2 separate regions of the Homo sapiens genome follow, and region 2 is linked to region 1. The links are contacts of gene promoters, found by promoter capture Hi-C in blood cells and fetal thymus (Javierre and others, 2016). All regions are on one chromosome and are shown on one strand. Each heading gives the region's core, a stretch centred on a gene start or on the middle of the fragment in contact. The rest is flanking DNA. Distances are from core to core; before and after follow the strand shown.

Region 1 (4,173 bases), core at 1,668-4,167:
AGAGGGCATGGCATGGGTCAGGGAAGCTTGATGTGTTCTAGAAAGCTGGAGCCACACGGAGACGTAGACATAGCTGTGTCATGCAGTGTGAGGGCCACTCACCACTCAGGACTCCTTTTAAAAAAATTTTTGACAGGGTCTGGCTCTGTCACACTGAAGTGCAGTGGCGTGATTATGGCTTACTGCAACCTGGGCCTCCAGGCTCAAGCAACTATCCCACCTCAGCCTTCTGCATAGCTGGGACCACAGATGTGTGCCACCACACCTAGGTAATTTTTTTCTTTTCTTTTTTTTGTTTTTTTTTTTAGAGATAGGGTCTCACTATATTGTCCAGGCTGGTCTCGAACTCCTAGGCTCAAGTGATCTTCCCACCTCTGCCTCCCAAAGTGCTTGGATTACAGGCATGAGCCACCTTGCCCAGCCATGTCAGGCTGGGGTGCAGTGGTATAGTCACAGCTCACTGCAGGCTCGACCTCCCAGGCTCAGCAATTCTCCCGCCTCAGCCTCCGGAGTAGCTGGGACTACAAGTGTGCACCACCACATCTGGCTAATTTTTTTACTTTTTGCAGAGATGGTTTCTCACTATGTTGCCCAGGCTGGTCATGAACTTCCGGACTCAAGCTATCTACCCACCTTGGCCTCTCAAAGTGCTGGGATTACAGACATGAGCCACCATGCCTGGCCTTAAATTTATTTTTTAATTGACAAGTAAAAATTGTATATATTTCTGGTGTATAACATCATGTTTGATATATGTATGTATATGTTGTGGAATGGCTAAACCAAGCTATTTAACATATGCATTATTTTACACCCTTATTTTTTGTGGTAAGGACACTTAAAAAATCTTCTGACTTAAAAAAAAAAGTATGGTGATTGGAAAATGTAAATGTGCATGCGTGCTTGGCATCACATTTCATTGGCCAGGACTTCCCTGGATGCTAAAGGTCCTCAAATGCCAGGCTGGGGGGCTGGGACTTGGTCCCAAGGGAGATGGGGACCCAGGGCACGTCTGTGAGAGGAGGGGCAAGGTCAGCACAAGGCACAGGAAGGTCTCTCTGGGGCAAGGGATACAGAGAACAGAGGGATCCTGGTCCAGGTGGGAGAGGTGCAGCTCTGAGTTGGGGTTGAGGGTGTGGGTACAGAGAGGAAGGGACCCCCCAGAGAGAGGAGGCAGAGGGATAGGGCCTGGTCACTGGGTTGTGCAACATCAGACTTGCTGTCTGTGAAGATAGCACGTCCTGAGAAGAAGGTGCTGAGGTCAGTGGGGACCAAATGTGAGAGGGAGCACCCGGAGAGTATACTGAATACCGAAGTAGTCTTCATCCCTGGAGTGATGGGGGGTGCACAATGCAAGATGACAATTAGATTCAATGCAAGACAAAGAAAAGGGTTGGCTGGGAACAGTGGCTCATGCCTATGGTCCCAGCTCCTGGGAAGACTGAGGCGGGAGGGTCGCTTGAGCCCAGGAGGGTTGAGGCTGCCACGAGCAAGGATCGTGCCACTGCACTCCAGCCTAGGCGACAGAACAAGACCTTGTCTCAAAAGAAAAAAGAACTTTTTTTTTTAAGTTACCTGTAGTGCCCAGCCCAAGCAGGTGCTGAGCCAGACTTCATTCCTATCATTGTCCTTATTACGCAGTGACTTCCCCCTCCTCATTTCTCTCCACTCTGCCACGCACACACCCTCACCCTCCAGCCCATACCAACCACCCCAACCACTGCCTGTGGTTTCCCATGTGCACCCAGGCCAGGCATTTTCACGGCCTTTCCTCCTGACCTACGCCTGGCTCAGCTTTCTAGGCCCAAGTTCAAAGACACCTCCCTAAATCTTCCCAGATCCCTCTGCTACTGCCCAGCACCACCATCTTATCACAGCCCCACGTCGTTCCCAAGTGCTCTCCGATTTCTGCTTAACTCCATGCCTCTCGCTGTGTGTCCGCATCTCATCAATAAGTCCTCAAGTCCTCTTCCATCCTGCTAGCTTCCTCATCGCTCGGGAATCATCCCCGCTACTTCCTGGGGAAACTGACTCCCTTCTGGGCACACACAGTGCTACCCCCGGGGAAATCTAAGAAGAGACCCAGGAGAAGATAAGCACGGAGAGTCAGAGAATCAAGGGGAAAGAAAGGGAGAGAGGCCGGGCACAGTGGCTCACACCTGTAATCCAGCACTTTGGGAGGCCAAGGTGGGTGGATCACCTGAGGTCAGGAGTTTGAGACCAGCCTGGCCAACATGGTGAAACCTCTTCCCTACTAAAAATACAAAAAACATTTAGCCGGGCGTGGTGGTGGGTGCCTGTAATCCCAGCTACTTGGGAAGCTGAGGCAGGAGAACTGCTTGAACTCAGGAGGCGGAGGTTGCAGTGAACTGAGATCACACCACTGCACTCCAGCCTGAGTGACAGAGCAAGACTCCGTCAAAAAAAAAGAAAGAAAGAAAGAAAAGAAGGAAGGAAAGAAAGAAGGAAGGAAGGAAGGGAGGAAGGGAGAGAGGAAGGGAGAGAGGAAGGGAGAGAGAGAAAAAAAGAGGGAGAGAGACACAAATACAGAGACTGAGATGGGAGAGAGAGAGAGATGGAAGCTCCCTCCCCTCCATGGCCAGGGAGACAGATGGAGCAAGAGACCTCAGGGGTGGGCAGACTTGGAGGAGAAGGACCAGGAGGATGTGGAGTGCCGAAATCTCCAGTCAGGGCCAGGTGGGCAGTCAGAGACTGCAAAGGAGGACTGTCAGACAGGGACAAAAGGAAGCCATTGATGTAACCGCCCTCCCGCCTGCCCGCCGGAAGAGAGGTTGAGGCCGGAGCTGCTGGGAGCATGGCACTGGGGTGCTGGGGGCGGACAAAGCCCGATTGTTCCTGGGCCCTTTCCCCATCGCGCCTGGGCCTGCTCCCCAGCCCGGGGCAGGGGCGGGGGCCAGTGTGGTGACACACGCTGTAGCTGTCTCCCCGGCTGGCTGGCTCGCTCTCTCCTGGGGACACAGAGGTCGGCAGGCAGCACACAGAGGGACCTACGGGCAGGTGTGTGAGTCACCCCAACCGCACTGAACCTGGGCAGGCTGCTTCCCAGTGCCGGAGGGCTCTAGAGCCCGGAGTGAGGGCCTGCAGGTCCCTGGGTGGCACAGAGAGTGCTGGGGGTGCAGGGAGGCCTGGGGCACCATCTGCTTGCCCCAGAGGCCGGAATTTGTCTTCAGACACTTTCTTTCTCCAAAACCCGGAGGTCTAAGGACTGAGCCGACTAGAACTTCCTCTGCCTCAGATTCAGGCCCCAGCCCCTCCTCCCTCAGACCCAGGAGTTTAGGTCCTAGCCCCTCCTCCCTCAGACCCAGGAGTCCAAGTTCCCACCTCCTCCCTCAGACTCAGGAGTCCAGGCCCCCAGCCCCTCCTCCCTCAGACCCAGGAGTCCAAGTTCTCACCTCCTCCCTCAGACCCAGGAGTCCAGGCCCCAAGCCCCTCCTCCCTCAGACGCAAGGGTCCAGGCCCCCAGCCCCTCCTCCCTCAGACTCAGGAGTCCAGGCCCCCAAGCCCCTCCTCCCTCAGACCCAGGAGTCCAGGCCCTCACTGCACTCAGGGACCAGTGCTCCCTTCCCTGGAGGCCTGGTCAGGGGTCACCAAGAGCAGAGCGTGGGGGCGGGAGGAATGTGTGTGGGAGGCCTGGGTAAGGAGGAAAAGGGTGTAGCCAGTCTCCTGGCTCAGGGACCTGAGAGACAGGGGTTAAAAGGACGTTCCAGAAGCATCTGGGGACAGAACCAGCCTCTTCCAGGGAGGCCTGGGAGCTGGGGGTGTGTGTCTGGCAGTCCCTGCAGCCCTGGGCTCTGCGGCCCCTGCGTCCTCCGCTTGGCTCTGCCACTGCATCTGAGTGTCTTCTCTCCTCACGGCTCCCCGCATTTCTAACTCTTTCTGCCTCCTCGTCTCAAAGCTGTTCCTTCCCCCGACTCAAGAATCCCCGGAGCCCGGAGGCCTGCAGCAGGTGAGATCACAGACATCACAGAACCTGCCGGGTGGGCGGGGTGGGTGGCCATTGCGCACAGAGCCAGGCTCCGAGGAAAACTCCCATACAGAGGAAGAACGCTAGGGCCCCCTAGGGTAACCCTCTCCTGTCGACAGGAAGGCAAATCAGTGCCCAAGAAAGTAGAAAGATCTAATCAGAATCTCACCATGGGTTACTGGACCAGT
Region 2 (4,173 bases), core at 698-3,197, 790 kb after region 1:
GAATATATATATGAGTATATGTATATGAGTATATATATATATATATATGCTGTATTAGCTGCATTGGATAAATATGTATCCATTCATCCTTCTCTCTATTTAAGCAATTCTAAACCAAGGACAAATTTGTCCCCCCAGGGACATTGGCAATGTCTGGAAACATTTATTACTGTCAACCTGTGTGTGTGGGAGTGCTGCTGGCATTTAGTGGGTAGAGGCCAGGATGTCAACCACATCCTACAATGCACAGGACAGCCTCCCACAACAAATAATTCTCTGGCCTCAAATGTCAATAGTGCTGGAGTTGAGAAACTGCAGCTTATCCATTCATTAGAATAATCTGCAGACGTCAGTAGGCTTCAGCCATAAACACTTCATTGCACACATCATTAATTCAATTTCAATATTTGTTTAGGGTTCCTTTTATTTAGGTAAAATTTACAGACAGTTAAATGTACAATTGCTAAGTATACCATTCAATGAGTTTTGACAAACGTATACACCCAACTAGAAAAAAATAGAACATTTCCATGTCCTAGAAAGTTACCTGACACTCTCCCCAGCCAACTCGCACCTCCACCCACCCCCAGGCAACTAATGTTCTGCTTTTTATCACCACAGATTAGTTTTGTCTGTTCTAGAGCTTTTTATAAATAGAATCCTATAGTAGATGATCTTTTGTGTTTCTTTCACTCCACGTAAAGCTTTTGATATTCATCCATGTTGTTATATGAATCAGTCATTTCTCTCTTTATTTTTATTTATTATTATTATTTTTTTTTTGAGACGAGGTTTTGCTCTTGTTGCCCAAGCTGGAGTGCAGTGGCACAGTCTCGGCTCACCGCAACCTCCACCTCCCGGGTTCAAGCGATTCTCCTGCCTCAGCCTCCCAAGTAGCTGGGATTACAGGCGCCCACCACCACGCCCGGCTAATTTTTGTATTTTTGAGACGGAGTCTTTTTCTGTCGCCCAGGCTGGAGTGCAGTGGCATGATCTTGGCTCACAGCAAACTCCGCTTCCTGGGTTCAAGCGATTCTCCTGCCTCAGCCTCCGGAGTAGCAGGGATTACAGGCACGTGCCACCACGCCCGGCTAATTTTTGTATTTTTAGTAGAGACAGGGTTTCACCATGTTGGCAAGGCTGGTCTCGAACTCCTGACCTCAGGTGATCTGCCTGCCTCGGCTTCCCAAAGTGCTGGGATTACAGGCACGAGCCACCACGCCCAGCCGAGAGACCCCTATCTCTACAAAATTAAAAAAAAAAAATTGCCAGACATGGTGGCACACGCCTGTAACAAAAAGAAATCAGTAGGTGACCCAGGTCTTGGCTCAAGGATTGCTTGAGCCTGGGAGGTCAAGCCTGCAGTGGCTGTGACTGTGCCACCACACTCCAGCCTGGGCAACACAGTGAGACTCTGTCGGAAGGAAGGAAGGAAGGAAGGATGGAAGGAAGGAAAGAAGGAAGGAAGGAAGGAAGGGAAGGGAGGGGAGGGGAGGGGAAGGGAGGGGAGGGAAAGAAAGAGAAAGAGAGAGAGAAAGAAGGGAAGGAGGGAGGGAAGGAGGGGAAGGAGGAGGAAGGAAGGAAGGAAGGAAGGAAAGAAGGAAGGGAGGGAGGGAGGGAGGGAGGGAGGGAAAGGGTTCGTAGATTAGTCCACAGAAATGTTACCATGTTTATTTCATAATATTTTACTGTGGTTATGAAAAGTTTCAACCTTTGGAGAAGCTTGGGTGAAGAGTGAGAATTCTTTGCATTATTTTGTATGAGAATTCTTTGCATTATTTTTGCAACTTTTTTGTTAAGTCTGAAATTATTTCAAAATAAAAAGGTTTTCAAAAGCCATATATGGCAAAACCTTCACATGCATCATATTTCTTTAACCCTTTCAGCACCATTATCTCAATTTCACCAACACAGAAACAGACTTAGAGACAGATAAGTAAGGGGCAGAGCTGGGATTTGAACTCATGTGAGTCTGATTCCAGTGCTCACATTTTTAAAAATTCAACACAATTTTTTAAGCACCTACCGTATGCTGGGCACTGTGCTGTGAACTGAGAATACCCCCATAGACAAGCCAGAGTGTCTGTCCTCCTGGATCTCAACTTCTCATGGAAGAGACAATGAACAAGTAAACAATAAAATGTTTGACATAATGTCAGGCGGTGAAGCTTTTATTTATTTATTTATTTATTTTATTTTTATTTATTTTTATTTTTTAGATGGTGTCTCGCTCTGTCACCAGGCTAGAGTGCAGTGGCACGATCTCAGCTCACTGCAACCTCTGCCCCCCCACCCCGGGTTCAAGCGATTCTCCTGCCTCAGCTTCCCAAGTAGCTGGGACTACAGGTGCCTGCCACCACACTTGGCTGGTTTTTGTATTTTTAGTAGAGACGGGGTTTCACCATGTTGGTCAGGCTGGTCTCAAATCGCTGACCTCATGATCTGCCCCACTCGGCCTCCCAAAGTGCTGGGATTACAGGTGTGAGCCATCACGCTGGGCAGGCAGTGAAGCTTTTAAAAATGCTGAACAAGGCTGAGCGTAATGGCTCATGCCTGTAATCCCAGCACTTTGGGTGGCTAAGGCGGGCGGATCATTTGAGGTCAGGAGTTCGAGGCCAGCCTCTACTCCTGTCTCTACCGAGAATCAAAAAGTTAGCCGGGCATGGTAGCACATGCCTGTAGTCCCAACTACTCTGGAGGCTGAGGCAGGAGGATCGCATGAGCCCAGGAGTTCAAGGCTGCAGTGAGCTATGATTGCACCACTGCACTGCAGCGTGGGCAACAGAGAAAGACCCTGGAGGGTGGATCACCTGAGGTCAGGAGTTCGAGACCAGCCTGGCCAACATAGTGAAACCCCATCTCTACTACAAAACTACAAAAATTAGCCAGGTGTGGTGGCACATGCCCGTAATCCCAACTATTTGGGAGGCTGAGACAGGAGAATCACTTGAACCCAGGAGGCAGAGGTTGCAGTGAGCCAAGATCGCGCCACTGCACTGCAGCCTGGGTGACAGAGAGAGACCCTGTTTCAAAAAAAATACAACAAAACAAGGCAACAGGGGGATAGAGAGAACATAGTAAGGAGCTGAATACTGAGAATAGGAAACAAAAGTACAGTGAAGGTAGAAGTTTTAAACCTCTGCGCTTTGGCTACCTGCGTCCCTAATTTGGTGCCTCCAAGTCTGAACTCTTACCCATTAAGCTAAATTACCTCCCACAGATGCCGTAATTAATCAGCTCTTTCCTTGACTCAGGGCTGTTATTACAAACATGGGTCATTACACCTATGGTTATTGAGCAATACTCTCTAGATCAGGGATTCTCACAGTTTCATATGCTCTAAAAATGTGCGTTGGTAAAAGCCATCAAATGAGCTCTGTGTGAGAAAGAGTAACTTTACAGAGGAGAAACTGGGTAGACAGCATCTTAAGCATGGGATCAAAGTTAGTATCACCCGTTGTGGGACCTGCTGACATCAGAGACCTCTTGATGTCATGCATCAAGGACACAGCATCCCTCCCGCAGTTAATGTTGTGAGGGATCTTAAAATTCTGATTCAGCAGGTCCAGGGTGGGGTGGAGGTTCTGTATTTTTAATATAAACTCCAGGTGATGCTGATGCTGCTACTTCATGGACCACATTTTAAGCAGCAAAGCTGGAGCTGCTTAAACTTGAGCAAAGCTGAAACCACCTCTAGGACTTGGTAAAATCCAGATTGTATAGATTGCACGGTGGCTCGTGCCTGTAATCCCAGCACTTTGGGAGGCCAACGCAGGAGAATTGCTTGAGGCCAGGAGTTCAAGACCGGCCTGGGCAACATAGCAAGACCCTCATCTCTATTTTAAAAAAATTAAAATTAACCAGGTGTAGTGACATGCACCTGTAGTCCAGCTACTCAGGAGGCTGAAGTGGGAGAATCACTTGGGCCCAGGAGTTTGAGGCTGCAGTGAACTGTGATTGAGCCACTGCACTCCAGCCTGGGTGACAGAGTGAGACCTTGTCTCTGAAAAGGTAGATAGATAGATAGACAGACAGACCGACGGATAGATAGATAGGCTGGCACAGTGGCTTACGCCTGTAATCCCACCACTTTGGGAGGCCAAGGCGGGGAGATCACCTAAGGTCAGGAGTTCAAGGCCAGCCTGGCCAACATGTCAAAACCCTGTCTCTACT

The links. Contacts are between HindIII fragments. The CHiCAGO score rates a contact against its expected background, and 5 or more counts as called.
Region 2: a contact is called between a fragment that was not itself captured here and the fragment with the promoter of KLK6 in region 1, in 2 of 17 cell types (M0 macrophages and total B cells). The highest score is 7.6, in M0 macrophages.

What each region holds. Positions count from the first base shown.
Region 1 is chr19:50,968,335-50,972,507 of GRCh38, reverse strand. KLK6 (kallikrein related peptidase 6) reads left to right here and starts at 2,917. Exons shown (of 7, transcript NM_002774.4): 1 at 2,917-3,018; 2 at 3,917-3,967. LOC105372442 (a long non-coding RNA gene) reads right to left here. Exons shown (of 7, transcript XR_007067308.1): 4 at 4,155-4,173. The HindIII fragment of the contact is 4,765 bases long and covers 29-4,173 here.
Region 2 is chr19:50,180,448-50,184,620 of GRCh38, reverse strand. All of the region lies in intron 1 of LOC124904746 (a long non-coding RNA gene), which reads left to right. Among named protein-coding and RNA genes, the nearest start is that of IZUMO2, 19 kb to the right of the region's middle. The HindIII fragment of the contact is 446 bases long and covers 1,725-2,170 here.